4 separate regions of the Homo sapiens genome follow, and all the other regions are linked to region 3. Evidence: promoter capture Hi-C in human tissues and cell types (Jung and others, 2019). All regions are on one chromosome and are shown on one strand. The core of a region is centred on a gene start or on the middle of the fragment in contact, and the rest is flanking DNA. Distances in the headings are between cores, read along the strand shown.

What was found. The method cuts DNA at HindIII sites, captures the fragments that hold promoters and counts their contacts. A contact is called where the count stands out against the background at its distance.
Region 1: a fragment that was not itself captured here is called in contact with the fragment with the promoter of ZDHHC14 in region 3 in 2 of the 25 tissues and cell types used here (H1 embryonic stem cells and dorsolateral prefrontal cortex).
Region 2: a fragment that was not itself captured here is called in contact with the fragment with the promoter of ZDHHC14 in region 3 in 1 of the 25 tissues and cell types used here (dorsolateral prefrontal cortex).
Region 4: a fragment that was not itself captured here is called in contact with the fragment with the promoter of ZDHHC14 in region 3 in 2 of the 25 tissues and cell types used here (dorsolateral prefrontal cortex and hippocampus).

What each region holds. Positions count from the first base shown.
Region 1 is chr6:158,013,793-158,016,826 of GRCh38, reverse strand. The region is part of intron 1 of SYNJ2 (synaptojanin 2); the gene reads right to left. Among named protein-coding and RNA genes, the nearest start is that of SYNJ2-IT1, 14 kb to the right of the region's middle. The HindIII fragment of the contact is 4,582 bases long and covers 1-3,034 here.
Region 2 is chr6:157,909,560-157,912,640 of GRCh38, reverse strand. It overlaps SNX9 (sorting nexin 9), which reads right to left. Exons shown (of 18, transcript NM_016224.5): 8 at 2,851-2,976; 9 at 2,616-2,733. Among named protein-coding and RNA genes, the nearest start is that of SNX9-AS1, 18 kb to the right of the region's middle. The HindIII fragment of the contact is 3,504 bases long and covers 1-3,081 here.
Region 3 is chr6:157,379,837-157,382,718 of GRCh38, reverse strand. ZDHHC14 (zDHHC palmitoyltransferase 14) reads right to left here and starts at 1,529. Exons shown (of 9, transcript NM_024630.3): 1 at 453-1,529. The coding sequence starts at 697. LOC124901446 reads left to right here and starts at 1,628. Exons shown (of 1, transcript XM_047419644.1): 1 at 1,628-2,882. The coding sequence starts at 2,018. RefSeq lists enhancers at 472-611, 1,370-1,981, 2,593-2,882 and silencers at 702-751, 1,262-2,151, 2,312-2,391. The HindIII fragment of the contact is 9,861 bases long and covers 1-2,882 here.
Region 4 is chr6:157,956,034-157,959,362 of GRCh38, reverse strand. No RefSeq gene overlaps it. Among named protein-coding and RNA genes, the nearest start is that of SYNJ2, 24 kb to the left of the region's middle. The HindIII fragment of the contact is 3,731 bases long and covers 26-3,329 here.

The DNA of each region.
Region 1 (3,034 bases), core at 478-2,977, 630 kb before region 3:
CCAAGGCACCTGTGGAGGTGGTAACTTGGGGAGACTGGGCAGAGGTGCCTGAGTACCTCTGAGTGCCCAGGGCCTGGGTCCAACCCATCCCAAGGAAAGCTGCGTGCCTTGCCTGCCGGGTCTTTGGCAGTGATTGTCCATGCTCAAGCCAAGGCATGTACTAGTTTTAATGCAAAACTGACAGAGGGAAGAACCATTAGGCGCAGGGAGCCCTAATGGTTAGGGAGAGCCCTAACCTCTCCAATGATGCCACAGGCCCTTCTGGTGACGACGGGGCAGGCCTTTAGACCCCTTCTCAGAATAATGTTTTAAGTGCACAGAACAAAATACAAAGATAGATGAACCTTGAAAACATTATGCTACATGAAAAAAGCCAGTCACAAAAGACCTCAGAAAGATTCCATTTTGGCCGGGCACAGTGGCTTACTTTGTAACCTGTAACCCCAGCACTTTGGGAGGCGAAGGCAGGCGGATCACCTGAGGTCAGAAGTTCGAGACCAGCCTGGGCAACGTGGCGGAACCCTATCTCTACTAAAAATACAAAAATTAGCTGGGCGTGGTGGCACACGCCTGTAATCCCAGCTACTCGGGAGGCTGAGGCAGGGGGATGGCTTGAACCCAGGAGGTGGAGGTTGCAGTGAGCCGAAATTACGCCACTGCACTCCAGCCTGGGTGACAGAGTGAGACTCTGTCTCAAAAACAAGATTCCATTTCTATGAAACGTCCAGAACAGGCACATTTCTAGAGACAGAAAGTAGATGTTGTGGTTGCCAGGGGCTGAGAGTGGGGAAAGGGGGAATGTAGATAATTGCTAATGAGTACGAAGCTTCTTTTAAGGGGGACAAAAATATTCTAAAATTAGATTATGGTGATGGTGGTGGTGATGGTTGTACAATCCTGAAAATATATTTTAGAAACATGGAGTTGTACACTTTAATGAGTTGTATGGTACAGAAATTATATCTCAATAAAGCTGTTATAAAAATCAAGAAAATAAATATGATCACAAATACCAATCTTATTGAAATCTAGTTATCAAAATTTTTAAAAAATGTTATAGTATAGCAATATATGTGCCTTATCAGCATATTAAATCGCAAAATCCAGTGGGGTCTATTAACCACCTTAATTTAAAACTAGTAATGGGAACAAATGCTACTTCAAGATATCTGAAACAACACTAATGTGATGTGGAGACATCTGTAATTGCAATTGGTGACAGGGTCAGAGATACGGCTAACCCACATTGGTGACAGAGTCACAGACATAGCTAACATACTGGTTTTGTTGCCTGCCTTCCTAATTAGAGGAAATGCTGCATTTCAGGTAGGATTTATACAAATAAAGATGGACTTTTCTCCCCACCCAAGAAAACTAATCCTCAAATCCTATGCACAGAGCCCTTAAGGAGCTTTGGGCCCCAGAAGAACCCTTGGGCTGGATGGAACCATTTCTACATCATCATGGAGGTAAGAAAAGGGGCAGCTGGTTCCCTCTCTACCTCATTGTCTTAAGCAGCCGAAAAGGATTCTTAGGCTGCCTCGACTCCCACAGTTAAGGAATTTCAACCAGGAACTAAGATCCCAAAGTGAAATGTTAGAAAGGAGAAAATGACAGAAAACATCAGCCCCTCATACCAAGCCCTCAGAGCAGATGGACTGTGAACTGACTTTCATCACTTCCTGCTGTCTCTAAAGATGTTGACTCAGAGAGGCAAGTGTAGAAAGCTTGGATGAACATTTGAAGCAGGTGAACCTTGTTTTAGCTGACACACATCCCAACACCCCAACTCAAAAGATCCACCATGCCATGTTTTCCAGGACACATTTGATTTCCTGGTTCCTCTCAACCATCCCCATCCCCCTCAAAGGCACTTGTCCTCATCAGACCACAAGTCCCAACTGGGATTGGAAATATAGTCAGACAGTCCCATCCTCCCCTCTGAAGCTCTTCCTACCCTCAGCCCCCCAGGAGTGGGTGCTGGCAGCCCTAGAGCTGCCTCGCTCAGGAACCAGCATGGACTGGCTGCTCCTGCCTCATGCTCCTCTAGCGAGCACAGGAGGACAGAAGGCAGGCACCAGGGCCTCACAACATGACCTGCTACCACCCACCAATCAGATGGCTCTGTCCAGGCTGGTTCTCGGGACATAGCTGGTGGGGCAGAGAGTCGGGACAGACCGTAAGACCAGAGACCTCCCTTCCTCCATTTCTCTAGGCAGGACTGATGGTAAGATGTGATTTAAAGAGCAGGACTGATTACCAGCGTAGCTGGAGAGGCCAACAACTTGAAAATACACCCAATTCCCATTATTCACAGTAGCTATGTTCCATAGAGTTACCAGCAGATACTGAAGCAAGCAGCACTCCTAAAGGAAATGCAGAGTTAGGTTCCTGAAAGCCTCAGGTTGCAACATTTTTGTCAATCAATCAATACTAACCTTGTTTTATGTGTTTTTCTATTTAAAAGACACCTTACTGAATAAACAGATGGTCCTCAACTTACAATGGGGTCATGTCCTGATAAACCCAGGATAGGTTGAAAATATCCTAAGTTGACAATGCATTCAATACACCTAACCTACCAAACACCATAGAGGTATGTCTCAGCTTGCCTTCCACCTATCCAGAACACATGTTAGCCTACAGCTGGGCGAAATCATGAAATACAAAGCCTACTTTCTGAAAGAGTGTTGAATATCTTATGAAATGTATAGACTATTGAACAGAAAGTGAAAAACAGAATGGTCCCATGGGTATTTGAAAGATGGTTTCTACTGAATGCATATCACTTTCACACCGTTGTTAAGTTGAAAAATCATACTGGAAGGAACCATCGTAAGTCAGGAATCATCTGTACAGTGTTGATTCGTTAACACTCAACCAGTGGCACTAGAACACAAACCTGAATACAGTTTATCAAACACACATATTTTCCCCATAAGGCACATCACTGCCTTCTTGCACTTGGAAACACTAGACAGCACTTTCAAACAGTGAAACCACGAAGAAAAAGCACAAAACATGGAAAACATGG
Region 2 (3,081 bases), core at 480-2,979, 530 kb before region 3:
AGCGAGAGGGGAATTCTTACATAATAATGATCTGTGGGCATCCCAGGCAGGAGGCACACAAGTGAGGGGGAAATAGAGCCCTTCTGTGCTGTTCGGCTTCCTTGGCTCATATCCCAGTTAGTGAATCAAAGCTCAACTTTCTTCACACCGAGGGGCTGCTGCTTTCTTGCTTTTCTATGACTTTCTCCTCCCTGGCTGCATGCCGAACTTATTTTTTTTTAAACAAATCTTAGTATGGAAGGAGAACCGTGACTCTCTGAAGCTTTAAAAGAGCACTGAATTATCTGATTCAGAATAAACAATGTATTAAAATCTAAAAGATATGAGAATTTCTTACAAGCCTGAAATAGGCCATTAAGCCATGGATTTAAACACTGTGGAGCACACACTGTGCTAACCAAGTTGATAAAGGAGAGCACAAAATTCAAGGAAATAGACTATAATTTTATATGGCAGAACTGAAGTTTTCATGGAAAGAAATCTGTATTTTTTAAGAGAAAACTGTGATTGAAAGCAATAAGGATGACAAAAAGGAGGTACAGGGAGTGTCTGAACCGGGTTGAGGTACAGGGAGTGTCTGAACTGGGTTAGAAGCAGGGGTTCGGTCAGTGCCTCTGGGCAGAAGGCAGCAGCAGCCCACGGCCATCTGGCTGTCACTCCACCGCCCCAGCACCACGAGGGACCACTCAAGTGTCACCCAGGGGACTGGGGAGATGTGTTTATCTACCCAGTAGTGCAGCCCCATTTTCAATTTTGCTATGACAATTTGAAATTTTTGAAATGTGTTCCAAAAAAATCAAAATCAAAACTTCTTTTAAAACAAAAGTTTCCATCTCCACAAAACACTTCAGGGAAAAATAAACATAAAACAAAGTAAAATATAAAGTAATGTTTTAAGGAGAATAATTTACTCATTGTATGAATACTAATTCTAGGGAAAGATTAGTCAGTCCACATCTTAACAGAAACAGAGTAAGCTATGGGATCAGATTCGAATTCCTTTTTCAGCAATAGAGAGGGGAACCTGTTTAATGTCTGTGGATTTCCGTTTCCTCATCTATAAAGTGAAGATGAAAATGCCTATCTGTGAGGACAGATGAGAGGCACTCGGGAAGTGTCCAGGAACACGTGGGACAAACTCCACGGCAGTGCTGACATGTTTCCATCTGGCACTGCCACCTGGCTGTGAAGGGTCGCAGGCCCTCCCTGAACTGTTTCTCTCGACTCTTGCGAGTGCAGTGAGAATTCCACCGCCTCTTGTCTTCCCTGACCTTTGGGGAAAGAACCCTTCCTTCAGCCCTCCATGTTTCTTCTCCCTAGGTTCAGGTGAGCATCTCAGTGTCTCTTTTACATCTCTTACAGGCCTCTCTGGCTCTGACCTTTGAAGACCTCCTCTCACAATCCACTCCTTTCTATTTTCACTAGTTCATGTATGTGAACATTTTCTAGCAATATACTAAAACTCTGTCTAACCTTTAAGTCTGTTTCTTCACAACATTTATTTATTTATTTATTTATTTATTTATTTGAGACAGAGTCTCGCTCTGTCGCCTGGGCTGGAGTGCGGTGGCGCAATCTCGGCTCACCGCAACCTCTGCCTCCCGGGTTCATGCCATTCTCCTGCCTCAGCCTCCCTAGGAGCTGAGACTACAGGTGCACACCACCACACCGGGCTAATTTTTTAGTAGAGACAGGGTTACACCGTGTTAGCCTGGATGGTCTCGATCTCCTGACCTCGTGATCCGCCCGCCTCGGCCTCCCAAAGTGCTGGGATGCCACTGCACCTGGCACACAACCTTTATTTTAACACACACATGCTGAGTCCCTCAGTGACTACATAGAGTAGCAGAGTCTACCCTAGGCTGGAGATTAAAAACAAAAACAATTCCCTGACACAAAAACAAACCCTTTCTACCTGCATACTTACAAGGTGCCCTGCATACTTACAAGGTGCTCTAGTAACACTATGGGTTACTTACCAAAAGATTCTTGGGGCTGGGGGAGGGGAGGGAATGTGGCACTTAAAAAACAAGAGAAGGGAGAGGGTAATAATCAAAATAAATAGAAAATGGCACTTTTAAAAAACAAGAAAAGGGAGAGGGTAATAATCAAAATAAGTAGAAAACCTGGCAGCTTCTTCCTTCATTAACACTTAGTAGTTCTGTGGCTTCTCTGTCCAGTGCTCACTCATCTAATGAAATAATGCAGCTCATCTGCATAACCTGTTTGCATCATGTGGGTCATACATTTTTATTTCCATTTTAGGCTATTTGAATTATTTCTATTTTTTCAGGTGTCATTTTTCACATATTTTAAATGTACACATTTCTTTTGTAGAAAAGGTACAGCAATGAAGACAATGACTGCTGGAATTCCAGACACATACCAAAACCTGTGATTTGCACATTAAACGTTCTTGTGAGACGTTTAGGCAACTTCCAGATAGATGTACAACATGCAATGGTTCTCTCTTCATAGCTGTATTTAATTACTGTTTCCAACTCCTGCATCCTGCTGCTCTACAGGATGGAAAATGCCATCACTGACTTACAGGAAGATAATCTGACTGGAGTCTTTCTATTTGTCATCCTGGGTTTAGCATTACACACACTCACCTGTGACTTGTTTGTCTGGAAGAGAAGGGATTGGAATGGCTGACCCAAACTTAACCAGGAGACGCTCATATAACCAGTCAAAGTGCTTATACCTGTGGTTTACAGATCGATTAGTGTTCTACAAAATAAGGGAAAGAGAAAAGGTTACCAATGCCAACTCTAGAAAATGAAGAAAAAAGCAAGCTGCAATCAGTGATCCAAACATGATTCTGCTTTTGATAACGTGGATACTTACAGTAGGTGTTAGCTGATATTCGATGTAGCTCTTTAGACCATACATTTTGGAGCCTTTCCTGGGATCTGCTACCACACAGTCAAAAGTAGAGGTAGGATAAACCCACATTGGGCCATAATCTCCAACCTATGCCAATGTTCCAGAAAGAAGTAATTTTGTTACATGGAAAAATAATAAATACAATTGATGTGAATCAGCAAGTAATTCTTTTCAGAATGAGAAGTCCTTTGG
Region 3 (2,882 bases), core at 280-2,779:
TAAGAAGATGCCCTATATGTTGTCAGCAAGGGGGAAAAAGTCAGTTCCATGTATCCCTGACTTAGGAATCTATCGCACCCCACCTTCCCACGGCAGGCTACATCTGGGCTGATTTGCTGGGTCCCCAAACTCGGTAGAGAGCGCCCCAAGGATCAGGGACCGGCGGCCCCACCTGCTGGGTCCCATCCGCCACCTGGATTGGCAAGGCCTGGCCCCCCTTGCAAGTGGACCCCTTCCCTCCCTGCTCCCAGAAGCCCAGCCCAGAACGGCGTTCTTTCCGGGGGCCCAAAAGCAATCAGACCTTTAAAAGAAAAAAGAGGGAGCGCAGACTGGCATTATATAACAATTTACAGTAGATAAGACTTCTAGAAAACGAAAGCAGCCCGAGGAGGGGCGGGGGACAGGGGAGACCAGGGGAGTGCGGCGTCGGGGGAGCGGTCGCCACCACTTACTCGAAGGCGAAGAAGAGTCCGCTAGTGACCAGGATGAGGACGAGCGTCAGGTAGAAGACGCCCGTCTGCCGGGCCATCATGATCCTCCCGTTACAGAAGAACTTGTTTCTTCCCGGGAACACCTCCCATTTCCTCCGGGCCGCGATTTTCTTCTTCTTGTGGGGCGACTCCATGGGGGAGGAGCTGTGGGTGCTGATCTGGCTGTACTCGCAGTCTTTCATGGGCCCGCCGCCGCCGGGAGGCATCCACGAGGGCAGCCGGCTGGGGGCGCACACCCCCAGGAGCCCCCCGGCCGCGCGGGCCCCGCCGAGCCACGACCGCCGCCGGCCGCCCGGCCGCCCCCCGAGCCGCGGCGCCGCGGCCCCTACACGGGCTCCCGGCTCGGCGACAACTTTGCCGAGGACACCCAGGTTAACCCTCCGGGGAGCCCAACTGTCATAGCAGAATCCCCGCTCCGTGAGGGGACGGCGCTGGTCCGCAGCCCGCGGCAGCACTCCTCCGTCGCTTCCAGCCCGCGTCCCGGGGCGCGGGGCTCAGCCCGGCCGGCCCCCGGGTCGCCGAGCGCCCGCCCCCTCGCGCGGCTGCCCGCTCGGCCCCGCAGCCCCCGGCTCCCCGGCCGCGCCTCGGCTCTGGCCCGCCGACCCCCGAGCACTGCGCCCCGAGGGGACACGAGGCGGCGGCCCCGGCGCCGGCTTCCTCGGGAGCCACTTCTGCGGCGCGGCCAGGTTGGGTCCACTCCTTCCTCCGGCAGCGGATCCTCCCAGGAGAGAGCGCTGGCGACTGGGCGGCCGCGCGCGGCACCGGCAACCCCTCCCAGGGGTGGGGACAACCACGCACGTTTTTCTGTCAGGAGCCTCTCGGCGAGAGCCGGGGCGCCGCTCGCACCGCGACCCGGTGTCGCTGCGCCTGGCAGCCTAGTCGAATCCGCGGCCCCCGCGCGGGGATGCGCGGGCCGAGGGCGGCGGCGGCTCGCGGGCCGCGCGGCGAGGGCTCCCTTGCTCCCTCCTACCCGGAGGAAGCGGCCCCGGCGCGAGGAGGGCCGCGGGGACACAGCACAGACACTTGTTTGCAAGGCTCAGCCCGGCGCGCGCGCGGCGCTCCGAGTGGGTCCGCCTCCTCCGGGCCGGGTGGGCGGTGGCCTCGCGCCTCACCCGCGGCTCCTCCTCCTGCTCCTCCTCCTCCTCGCCCGCGAAGCCAGGGCACCGGCGCAGCGAGATTCCAGCCCCAGCCCCCTCGGGCGGGCGCCCTGGGGTGTGGAAGGCGCGGGGCTCCCTGTGGCATCGCCCAAGTAGGGATGGGGTCGGGCGCCCGCGGCCCCGCCGCGCAGTGCGCTCCTGGCCGACTTCAGTCCGTCTCGCGGCTTCTTCCGGGTTTATCCCGCGCAGCAGCTGCCGCCTCGGGACACGCTCATTCCCACGGCCACCGGCAAGCCACTCCTGGCGACTCCCCGGGACCTGAGGAGCCGCGGCGCGGAGGTGACCCTCCCCGGCCTGCGCCTCCCTTCTTCCTCCTCCCCAGCTGGGCGCGTGGTCGCGTCGCCCGGGGACTCTGGTGATGCCCGAGAAATGGGCTGGGGGTGCCGGGTGCCAGGATGGGGTGGGGCGGCCCTAGGCCGGCCTGACTTCGGGACCGGGCTGCGGGCGAGGGTCTCGGGGCCCGGCTCGGCCGGCTTCCGGGCCGAGAAAGAAGGGCAGAGGAAGCGGTCAGGGTCCCCTCCGGCCCCGGCCTCCCTCCCGGAGTATAAGCCCTTGGAGGCCAGGTTTTGGGTTGCTGCCGCCCAGCTCTTTCGGTCTCCACTTCTCCCCACGGACGTTTACAGCTGCTCGCTTTATTTCTCCCTCCATTCCCCCGTGGAGCCCCCTCGGCAGCGGAGGGGTCGCGTGCTTCTCCTCTCCCGCCTGCGCCTCCCCCCTTCCCACCCGACAGCCCAGGAGGAGCTGCGGGCGCGGCCCTGGGACGGCCGGAGCCTGGGGCTTCTGCTCGCTCGCGCCCTCCCAGGCGTTGCCGCGGGTCCGAGCCCCCGCAGAGGTGGGCATAGCCCCGGGGCCGCAGAAAACGAAGGCAGCTGGGCAGGGATGCTCAATTTCCCGAGCCCCACTTTCCTTTCACAGCCCACTGGGATGTGTAGTTCTTCCGCCCGCAGGCCTGCGCCGAGGAGAAGCACGACTCGGGGCCTTAGAAACTACAAGTCCCTGCATCCCCCGCGACAAGGGCAGGAGAGGCGTGGTGCTGGGCGTTCTGGGGCTAGGTGGTGGGAGATGGGAACCAACAAAGGGGGTTGTGGGGAACGGTGCCTTCTCTGTACTGGGCAGTTTGCACGTTACACATGTTCTTTGTCTAATCTTCGCCGGAACCCGGTGAGGCATTATTGTATCCAGCTTAGAGAAAGCTTAACTACTGGCCAAACATCACAAAGCTCCCAAGTAGTAG
Region 4 (3,329 bases), core at 642-3,141, 580 kb before region 3:
GATTTCAAATTACTGAACTACATGCCAGAAAAAAAGCTGAACACTATTTAAAAGAATACAACAAAATCCAGCACCCAGCAATGTAAAATTTTACAATGCCAACATCTAACCAAAAACTACCAGGCACGCAAAGAAACAGGAAAATATGAACATCACCAAGAGAAATATCAATCAACAGAAAAGACCCAGAAATAAAATACATGATGGTATTAACAGACAAAGACTTTAAAACAATTATTACAAATATATTCCATATATTCATGAAGGTAGGGAAAAATAGAAACATAAATGAGGAGAGAAATTAATAATATAAGAAAGATCCAAATGGAATTTACTAGAGATAAAAATATAATATCTGGAATAAAAAATACATGACATGGGATTAACAGCAGAGAGATGCTGCAGAAGAAGACATCAGTGAGCTTGAAGACATAGCAATAGCAACTGTCCAAAAATGAAGCCCATTGAGAAAACAAATTAACAGAGAATCCAGTGATCTGTGGACAAGATCAAGTGGTTTAACATGTATATCTCTGCAGTTTCAGAAATAAAGGAGGGAGAAAGGAAGAATATTTGAAGAAATAGGGCCAACATTTTTTCACATTTAATGAAAACTTTATAGCCATAGATCCAAGAACCTTAACCAAACCAAAGCAGAAGGTGCATGGAGAAAACTATATTAAGGCACATGATAATCAAATTGCCGGAAACTAGTGACAAAGAGAAAATCTTTAAAGCAGGTCAGGGAAGGCCAGGCACAGTGGCTCACGCCTGTAATCCCAGCACTTTGGGAGGCCAAAGTGGGCGTATCATGAGGTCTGGAGATTGAGACCATCTTGGCTAACGTGGTGAAACCCTGTCTCTACTGAAAATACAAAAAATTAGCCGGGTGTGGTGGTGGGCACCTGTAATCCCAGCTACTTGGGAGGCTGAGGCAGGAGAATGGCGTGAACCCAGGAGGCAGAGCTTGCAGTGAGTGGAGATTGCACTGCTGCACTCCAGCCTGGGTGACAGAGCGAGACTCCGTCTCAAAAAAAAAAAAAAAAAGCAGGTCAGGGAAAAAAAAACCCATTGCTTACAAACGAGCAAGGTAAGAGTGATGGCAGATTTGTCATCAGAAACTATGCAAGCCAGGAGACAATAGAGTGACATCCTTAAAGTACTGAAAGGAGGCCAGGTGTGGAGGCTCACGCCTGTAATCCCAGCAATTTGGGAGGCCGAGACGGGAGGATCAGGAGTTTGAGACCAGCCTGGGCAACATAGCAAGACCTCTTGTCTGCTAAAAATAATTTTAAAAAAGATTAGCCAGGTGTGGTGGCATGGGCCTGTGGTCCTAGCTACTTGGGAGGCTGAGGTGAGAGAATTACTTGAGCCCGGGAGCTTGAGGCTGCAGTGAGCCATGATCACACCACTGCACTGCAGCTTGGGTGCCAGAGCCAGACCCTGTCTCAAAAAAAGTACTGAAAAGAAAAAGAAAGCAATCAATCCAGAATTCTATCCTGCATAAAATTTCTTTCAAAATCAGCTTTTCAGACAAACAGAAACTGAGAGAATTAATTAACTAGGGAACCTACATTCCAAGAAATGTTACAGGACACTCCTCAGGTAGAAGGAAAATGGCACTAGAGGGAAATTTGGATGTACACAAGGATTCGAAATGATAAACACATCAGTAAATGTAAAAGACTTTTTTATAATTGAAAATACTCTTTAAAAGATAATTAACTGTGGCCAGGCGCAGTGGCTCATACCTGTAATCCCAGCACTTTGGGAGGCCGAGGCGGGCGGATCACAAGGTCAGGAGATGGAGACAAGATGGAGACCATCCTGGCTAACACGGTGAAACCCCGTCTCTAATAAAAAATACAAAACATTAGCCAGGTGTAGTGGCGAGCACCTGTAGTCCCAGCTACTCGGGAGGCTGAGGCAGGAGAATGGCATGAACCCGGGAGGTGGAGCTTGCAGTGAGCCGAGATTGCGCCACTGCACTCCAGCCTGGGCAACAAAGCAAGACTCCATCTCAAAAAAAAAAAAAAATTAACTGTTTAAAGCAAAAATATTAACAGTGTATTTTTGAGTTTATAGTATATGTAGAATAAAATATATGACAACAATAAGGTACAAGAGGGGAAAATGGAAGTAACATATTGTAAGGTTCATAAGCTGTGTATGAGGTGGCACTATTATTTAAAAATAGACGATGATAAGTTAAATACATATAGCAAAGAGGGAAAAGGGAGGTTTTATTGGAGGTAAAATAAAATCATAAAAAGTACTCAATTCAAAAGAGGGAAAAAAAGGAATGAAGAACAGATTGAACAAATAAGAGACCAATGGCAAGATAATGGATTTAAACCCAGCCATGTTGATAATCACATTAAATATAAACCGTCTAACAATAATTGGGTGCTTTACGACTCCAGTTCAGGAACAAACAAATATAAATAAATTGTATGTAGGAAGGAAACAGTGAAGACTTTACCCTCTATAATGGAAATGACTATAACAGTGAAATGCTTCCACCCAGAGGCACAAGAGCCCCTCAAAGCTTTAAGCCCTGGCTGCTGCTTGGTCTCTTCAGCTCTTTTTTATTAATTTTTTTTATTTTTTAGAGACAGGGTCTCACTCTGCTACCCAGCCTGGAGTGCAGTGGTGTAATCATAGCTCACTGCAGCCTTGAACCCCTAAGCTTGAGCCATTCCCCCTGCCTCAGCCTCCCAAGTAGCTGGGACTACAGGCATGCGCCACCATGCCTGGCGAAGTTTTAAATGTTTTCGTAGAGTCAGAATCTTGCTATGTTGCCCAGGCTGGTTTCAAGCTCCTGGCCTCAAGTGATCCTCCTGCTTCGGCTTCCCAAAGCACTGGGATTACAGGCATCAGCCACCTTGCTTGGCCTCTTCAGGCCCTTGATTCAAGAAAGCAGAAGGCAAGGAGGGGAGTCACCATCCTGTTGGAAAACTGACCAGTTGTCAGGAGGCTGTCATTCGTAGGGCTGCTTTTCCAAGACAGGGGCAGGGAAGAATACGCTTGGCACCAGGTAATCTATCGAGGGTCCCTGGGTGCTCACGTACTCCATTTGCATGGCACATAGATAAGTGCACGCATGTTTCAGAGGGGGCACGAGGAGGCACCCGTGTCAGGAGGTTCAGTTGAATCACTAAATTAGAGTGGTACAGGCCGGGTGTGGTGGCTCATGCCTGTAGTCTTAGCACTTTGGGAGGCCAAGGTGAGCAGATCACCTGAGGTCAGAAGTTTGAGACCAGCCTGGCCAACATGATGACACCCTGTCTCTACTAAGAACACAAAAATTAGCCAGGCATGGTGGCGGG